Regions from separate parts of the Homo sapiens genome. Here region 1 is linked to region 2. The links are contacts of gene promoters, found by promoter capture Hi-C in blood cells and fetal thymus (Javierre and others, 2016). All regions are on one chromosome and are shown on one strand. Each heading gives the region's core, a stretch centred on a gene start or on the middle of the fragment in contact. The rest is flanking DNA. Distances are from core to core; before and after follow the strand shown. Region 1 has its middle 3.7 kb from the start of KRTAP5-10. Region 2 holds the start of KRTAP5-5 (keratin associated protein 5-5).

Region 1 (3,039 bases), core at 300-2,799, about 70 Mb after region 2:
TTTACAAATCAGATATCTGATAAGCGTCTAGCATCTAGAGTATATAAAGAACTTTTTCTTCAACTTTTATTTGAGAATCAAGCAGTACATGTGCAGATTTGTCACATGGATATATTGTGTGATGCTGAGGTTTGGAGTAGTGACTGTAGTACCCAATAGTTTTTCAGCCCTTGCCCCCTCCCTCCTTTCCTCCCTCCTCTTGTTCCCCAGTGTCTATGGTTTTCATCTTTATGTCCATGTGGACTCAATGTTTAGCTCTCACCTATAAGTGAGAATATGTGGGATTTGGTTTTCTGCTTCTGCATTAGTTCTCTTAGGATAATGGCCTCCAGCTGCATATTGCCGCAAAAGATATTACTTCATTCTTTTTTATAGCTGTGTAGTATTCCATGGTGTGTATGTACCACATTTTCTTTATCCAATCCACCATTGATGGGCACCTGGGTTGATTCCACATCTGTGCTTCTGTGAATAGCACTGCAATGAACATATGGATGCATGTGTCTTTTTGGTAGATTGATTTATTTTCCTTTGGGTATATACCCAATAATGAGATTGCTGGGTCAAATAGTAGTTCAATTCTTAGCTCTTTGAGGAATCTCCAAACTGCTCTCCATGGTGGCTGAAATCATTTACACTCCCACCAACAGTGTACAACTGTTCCCTTTTCTCCCAAGCTTTGCCAGCATCTGATTTTTGGTTTGTTTTGTTTTGTGTTGTTTCATTTTTTATTTTTTATCAAAAGCCATTCTGACTGATATGAGATGGTATCTCATGGTGGTTTTGATTTACATTCCCCTAATAGTTAGTGATGTGGAGCATTTTTTCATATAGTTGTTGGCCATGTGCATGTCTTCTTTTGAGAAGTGTCTGTTCATATCCTTTACTCACTTCGTAATGAAGTTATTTGTTTTTTGCTTGTTGATTTAAGTTCCTTGTAGATTGCAGATATTAGACTTTTGTCAGATGCACAGTGTGTGAATATTTTCACCCATTTTGTAGGTTGAGTGTTGACTCCCTGATAGTTTCTCTTGCTGTGCAGAAGCTCTTCCGTTTAATTACGTCCCGCTTGTCAATTTTTGTTTTTGTAGCAATTGCTTGTGAGGATTTAGCCGTAATTCTTTTTTAACAAGGCTGATATCAAGAAGGTGATTTCCTAGGTCTTCTTCTAGGATTTTTATAGTTTGAGGTCTTACATTTCGGTCTTTAATCCATCTTGAATTAATGTTTGTATATGGTGATCTGGTTAGCGGCCCAGTTTTATTCTTCTGGATGTGGAACTCAGTAATAAAAAGACAAATAACCCAATTAAAAAGTGGGCAAAGAATCTTAATTAGACATTTTCTGAAGAAGATACCCAAATGACAACAAGCATATAAAAAGACTCTGAGCATCATGATTCAACAGGGAGATGCAAATTGAAATCACAATGAGATACCATTTCACAAACACTAGGATGAATATAATGTAAAAGGTCAGACATTAACAAGTATTGGGGCAGGGTGTGCTTGTACCTGTAATCCCAGTGACTCAGGAGGCTGGAAGGGAGGATCCCTTGGGGCCACGAGTTTGAGTCTAGTATGGGTATCATGGCAAGACCTTGTCTCTACAAAAAATTAAAAATTTAGCTGGGTGTGATGAGGCACAACTGTAGTCCCAGCTACTGGGGAGTTTGAGACAAGGATTGCTTGGGTCCAGGAGGTTGAGGCTGCAGTGAGCTATGATCATGACACTGCACTTCAGCTTTGTCAACACAGTAAAACCCTGTCTCTAAAAAATAAATAAATAAAAATAAAATAAAATAACAACTGTTGACAAGGATGCAGAAACACTGGAACCTCCATGCACTGCTGTGGGAATGTAAATTGCTCAGCCACTGTGGAAAACAGTCTGCAGTTCCTCAAAAACTTAAGCAGAGAGTTACCATAGGGCCCAGCAATTCTGCTCATAAGGATGTTCCCAAGGGAAATGAAAACACATTCCATGCAAAAACTGGCACACCCATGTTCACAGCAGCATTACTCACAACAGCCAAAAGGTGGAAACAGTCTAATGTCTGCCAACTGAGGAATGAATGGTGTATTCATACAAAGGAAGATTAGTGTAAATAATTTATCATAGTAATGAAGTTCTGTTTCAGGCTGCAACATGGATGAACCACAAAACATTACACTAAGTGAAAGAAGGAAATTATAAAAGACCACATATCATATAATTTCACAGGTATGAAATTTCAAGAATAGAAAAATAGAGAGAGACAAAAAGTAAATTAGTAGTAGCCTCTGGCTACTACTAATGTTACCCATTTATCAGACTCAGGTGAGACACTCACATATGTCACAGGAAGTGGGTATACCAGTTACAGACAGGCAGCAAGGGAGAACAGGAGCCTCGGATTCATTGGGAGCCCTCTAGCCTCAGCAAAGCTTCCCAGGTGAGCTGAGTCTTATCCATGTGTGCCCCACTCACACCACAGCTGAGGGATCCCAGAAAGCCGCCTGCCCTCGGTCTTATGTCCCAGGGCTACAGGATTCACTGCACTAAAGCACGAAAGAATATCCTGTTTCTAGGAACTGGGACAAAGCCCGACTCTTCTGGCCAGTCCCTCCCTAACTCAGGATGTTGCATTCCCAGCATATTCTACAGTTATTCTTTTTCTTTCTTTATTAATATTTTAATTGAAGCATGATCATTGTACATGTTTATGGGGACCAGTGAGATATCAACTTCTTTAGCTTGCACCTGTGAGTGAGATCATGCAGTTCATCTTTCTGTGCCTGGCTTATTTCATTTAGCATAATGTCCTCCAAGCTCACCTGTATTGTCACATAGGGCAGAATTTTGTTCTGCTCTAGGGTTAAATAGAATTCCATTGTGTGTATACACCATCTTTTCCTTTTCATTACTTTTCCATGTTTTCCATTCATCTGTTGACAAGCACTTAGGTGCTTTCATATCATGGCTATCGTGAGCAGTGCTGTGATAAACATGGGGTGCAGATATCTCTTCAACACACTGATTTCTTTTCCTTTGGATACA
Region 2 (2,930 bases), core at 171-2,670:
TGCAAATGTATCAGGCACTGGATGCGAATGTATCAGGCGCTGGATGCGAATGTATCAGGCGCTGGATGCGAATGTATCAGGCGCTGGATGCGAACGTATCAGGCGCTGGATGCGAATGTATCAGGCGCTGGATGCGAATGTATCAGGAAGCAAATGTATCTGTTGCCTCTGTTCCAGAGCTGGAGGATGCCGCCTCTGGTGGGGACAGCCAACACAAGGCGGCTCTCTCCTAATGGGTTTTCTGTTCCTCCCTGAGATACAGTCCCCTGCCCCAGAACAGAGTGGGGCTCCAGCATACACGGCAAGAGTCACCGAGTGCCAGCTGGTGTTTACACCGTGGCCTGAGGCCTGTTGACTGGGCTCGGGGCACTCACAGGTATTGTGGTCACGGGGGCAAATGGCCATCCGGTTCCCTGCTCTCCACCGGCTTTCTTTAGCATCCAGTGGGCCTGCACCCGAATGTAGTTGCTGCTTCCCAGGCTGAGCCCGGGACCCGGAGCAGGCGGGCACCCAGACAGGGCATCCTCTTCCGCTCACTGGCCCTGAAAGGGCCTCTGCCATCAGCCTGTGCCGCTGTCCGGGAGCCCCTGGGCCGGCCACGCAGTGGGGGAACCCGCTTCACAGCGACACCGTGCGGCGGCAGGAGGAACCGCTGCAGGAGACAATGCGATCTGGGTCCTGACCCAGCGCAGAGGCAGTGTCTGCCCCTTGCAATGCTTGGATTTCCTTCCTCAAAAGGCAGCCTTCGATGATCTGAAATTCAAGTTCCAGCAGGCATCCTGTACTGTATCTGTCAGCCCTGCCACCCGAGTGGTCTGAAAGCCCTGGAAGAGACCGCGGTTATCACAGGAGAACACTTTCCATGGGGAGCACGCAGCAAGCTCCAGAATAAGCGCTTAAAATCCCCGTCTCAGTCAACACTGCAAACCTTCCAACAAAGTCTTACACCGAAAACGACCCTGCTGAGCTGAGGGCTGAAGCCCCAGGTCCTGGGACCCTTGGAAACAGCCCGCGGGCCAGGAGCTGCTGTGGACCGTGAAGGTGTAGGGCCTAGGCACGTCCCAAGCAAGACACGATGCTCCCGCAGAGGAATCTTCCCGGGAGCAAGCCAGGAGTCCTGGGCTCAAAATCACCCTCGGCAAGACCAAGGCCTCTGAGCGAGCCACTGCCTGCCCATCGCTTCCTTCTTGTCACATGGAAAGGGAAACTCACCGCGGGGCCAGTGTTTACTGAGGGGCCGCTTCCATCACAGACCTGACAGCACATTCGAGAAAAGTGCGAGGAAAACAGGAGTTATTTATAAAAATGTAAAGCAGAAGAGAATACTGGGACCAGTGGCACAAGCAGGAACCAGGAAGTGACAGTGTGCCCAGCCTCTCACCTGACCCTGGACAGGGATATAAAGAGCCCGGGCTCAGGGGGCTCCACACCTGCACCTCCCTCTCACCTGCTCCTCTACCTGCTCCACCCTCAATCCACCAGAACCATGGGCTGCTGTGGCTGCTCCGGAGGCTGTGGCTCCGGCTGTGGAGGCCGTGGCTCCGGCTGTGGGGGCTGTGGCTCCGGCTGTGGAGGCTGTGGCTCTGGCTGTGGGGGCTGTGGCTCCGGCTGTGGAGGCTGTGGGGGCTGTGGCTCCGGCTGTGCGGGCTGTGGGGGATGTGGCTCCGGCTGCTGTGTGCCTGTCTGCTGCTGCAAGCCCATGTGCTGCTGTGTGCCAGCTTGTTCCTGCTCCAGCTGTGGCAAAGGGGGCTGTGGCTCTTGCGGGGGCTCCAAGAGAGGCTGTGTCTCCTGTGGGGTGTCCAAGGGGGCCTGTGGCTCCTGTGGGGGGTCCAAGGGGGGCTGTGGCTCCTGTGGGGGGTCCAAGGGGGGCTGTGGCTCCTGTGGGGGGTCCAAGGGGGGCTGTGGCTCCTGTGGGGGGTCCAAGGGGGGCTGTGGTTCTTATGGCTGCTCCCAGTCCAGCTGCTGCAAGCCCTGCTGCTGCTCCTCAGGCTGTGGGTCATCCTGCTGCCAGTCCAGCTGCTGTAAGCCTTACTGCTGCCAGTCCAGCTGCTGTAAGCCCTACTGCTGCCAGTCCAGCTGCTGTAAGCCCTGTAGCTGCTTCTCAGGCTGTGGATCATCCTGCTGCCAATCCAGCTGCTACAAGCCCTGCTGCTGCCAGTCCAGCTGCTGTGTCCCCGTGTGCTGCCAGTGTAAGATCTGAGGCTCTGACTGCAGACTGCAGGTGGCCTGACTGGTGAAGGGCCCGGCTGCCCAGCTTCCTTGCCCTGGGTTCTCTGGTGCTCCACTGTCTCCACTGTGTCCTCACTGGCTTCATCCACTCCACACCAGTGCTCCCGAAACTGACTGAGGACCCCTTCTGGCTCATTGCCTACTACTTCTCCTGAACTTCCTCTCCCTGCTCCTCACTCATTTAAGATCCAAAGCGGCCCACTGAGGCCCCAGAGGCAGATCAGACCCCTTAGACCCTGACAGCTGCTCCTTCTTTCAGGAGTGTGATCGACCCTCAATCTCTCTGGCTGTCTGTATATCAAGACTGAATCCTGACCCTCTAAATAAACAAAGTCTCTAAGCACAAAGCTCACTGTCTTGTGGTTCTCTCCTTCCCACCTCTCTCTCATTCCCAGAAGCACCATCTTCTTGCCTCCACCCCTGGGCCTGTTCCCATTTCTCTCCCCTCAGCATCTTTCATGTCATGGTCCATGTCTTCATGCACAGAACTAACGTCTATAGCTTTCTGCTCTGGGCCCCTTGTTGTGTTGGGCTCCAGAGATGACAGAGCAGAGTAAATCCAAGCTCACAGTCTGGTATGTGGGGAGAGGTGGGGAGAGGGAAAGGTGGTGAGGGCGGTGGTGTCAGCCGTGGAGGCACTGCCGTCCCGTGGGAGGGAGGGAAGCTCAGGGCCAGGCCACTTCAGCGGAAGGATGAGGAAG

The links. The method cuts DNA at HindIII sites, captures the fragments that hold promoters and counts their contacts. A CHiCAGO score of 5 or more calls a contact.
Region 1: a contact is called between a fragment that was not itself captured here and the fragment with the promoter of KRTAP5-5 in region 2, in 1 of 17 cell types (M0 macrophages). The highest score is 5.9, in M0 macrophages.

What each region holds. Positions count from the first base shown.
Region 1 is chr11:71,560,341-71,563,379 of GRCh38, forward strand. No RefSeq gene overlaps it. Among named protein-coding and RNA genes, the nearest start is that of KRTAP5-10, 3.7 kb to the right of the region's middle. The HindIII fragment of the contact is 1,749 bases long and covers 676-2,424 here.
Region 2 is chr11:1,628,355-1,631,284 of GRCh38, forward strand. It overlaps KRTAP5-5 (keratin associated protein 5-5), which reads left to right and starts at 1,421. Exons shown (of 1, transcript NM_001001480.3): 1 at 1,421-2,576. The coding sequence starts at 1,487. The coding sequence ends at 2,200. The HindIII fragment of the contact is 5,409 bases long and covers 1-2,930 here.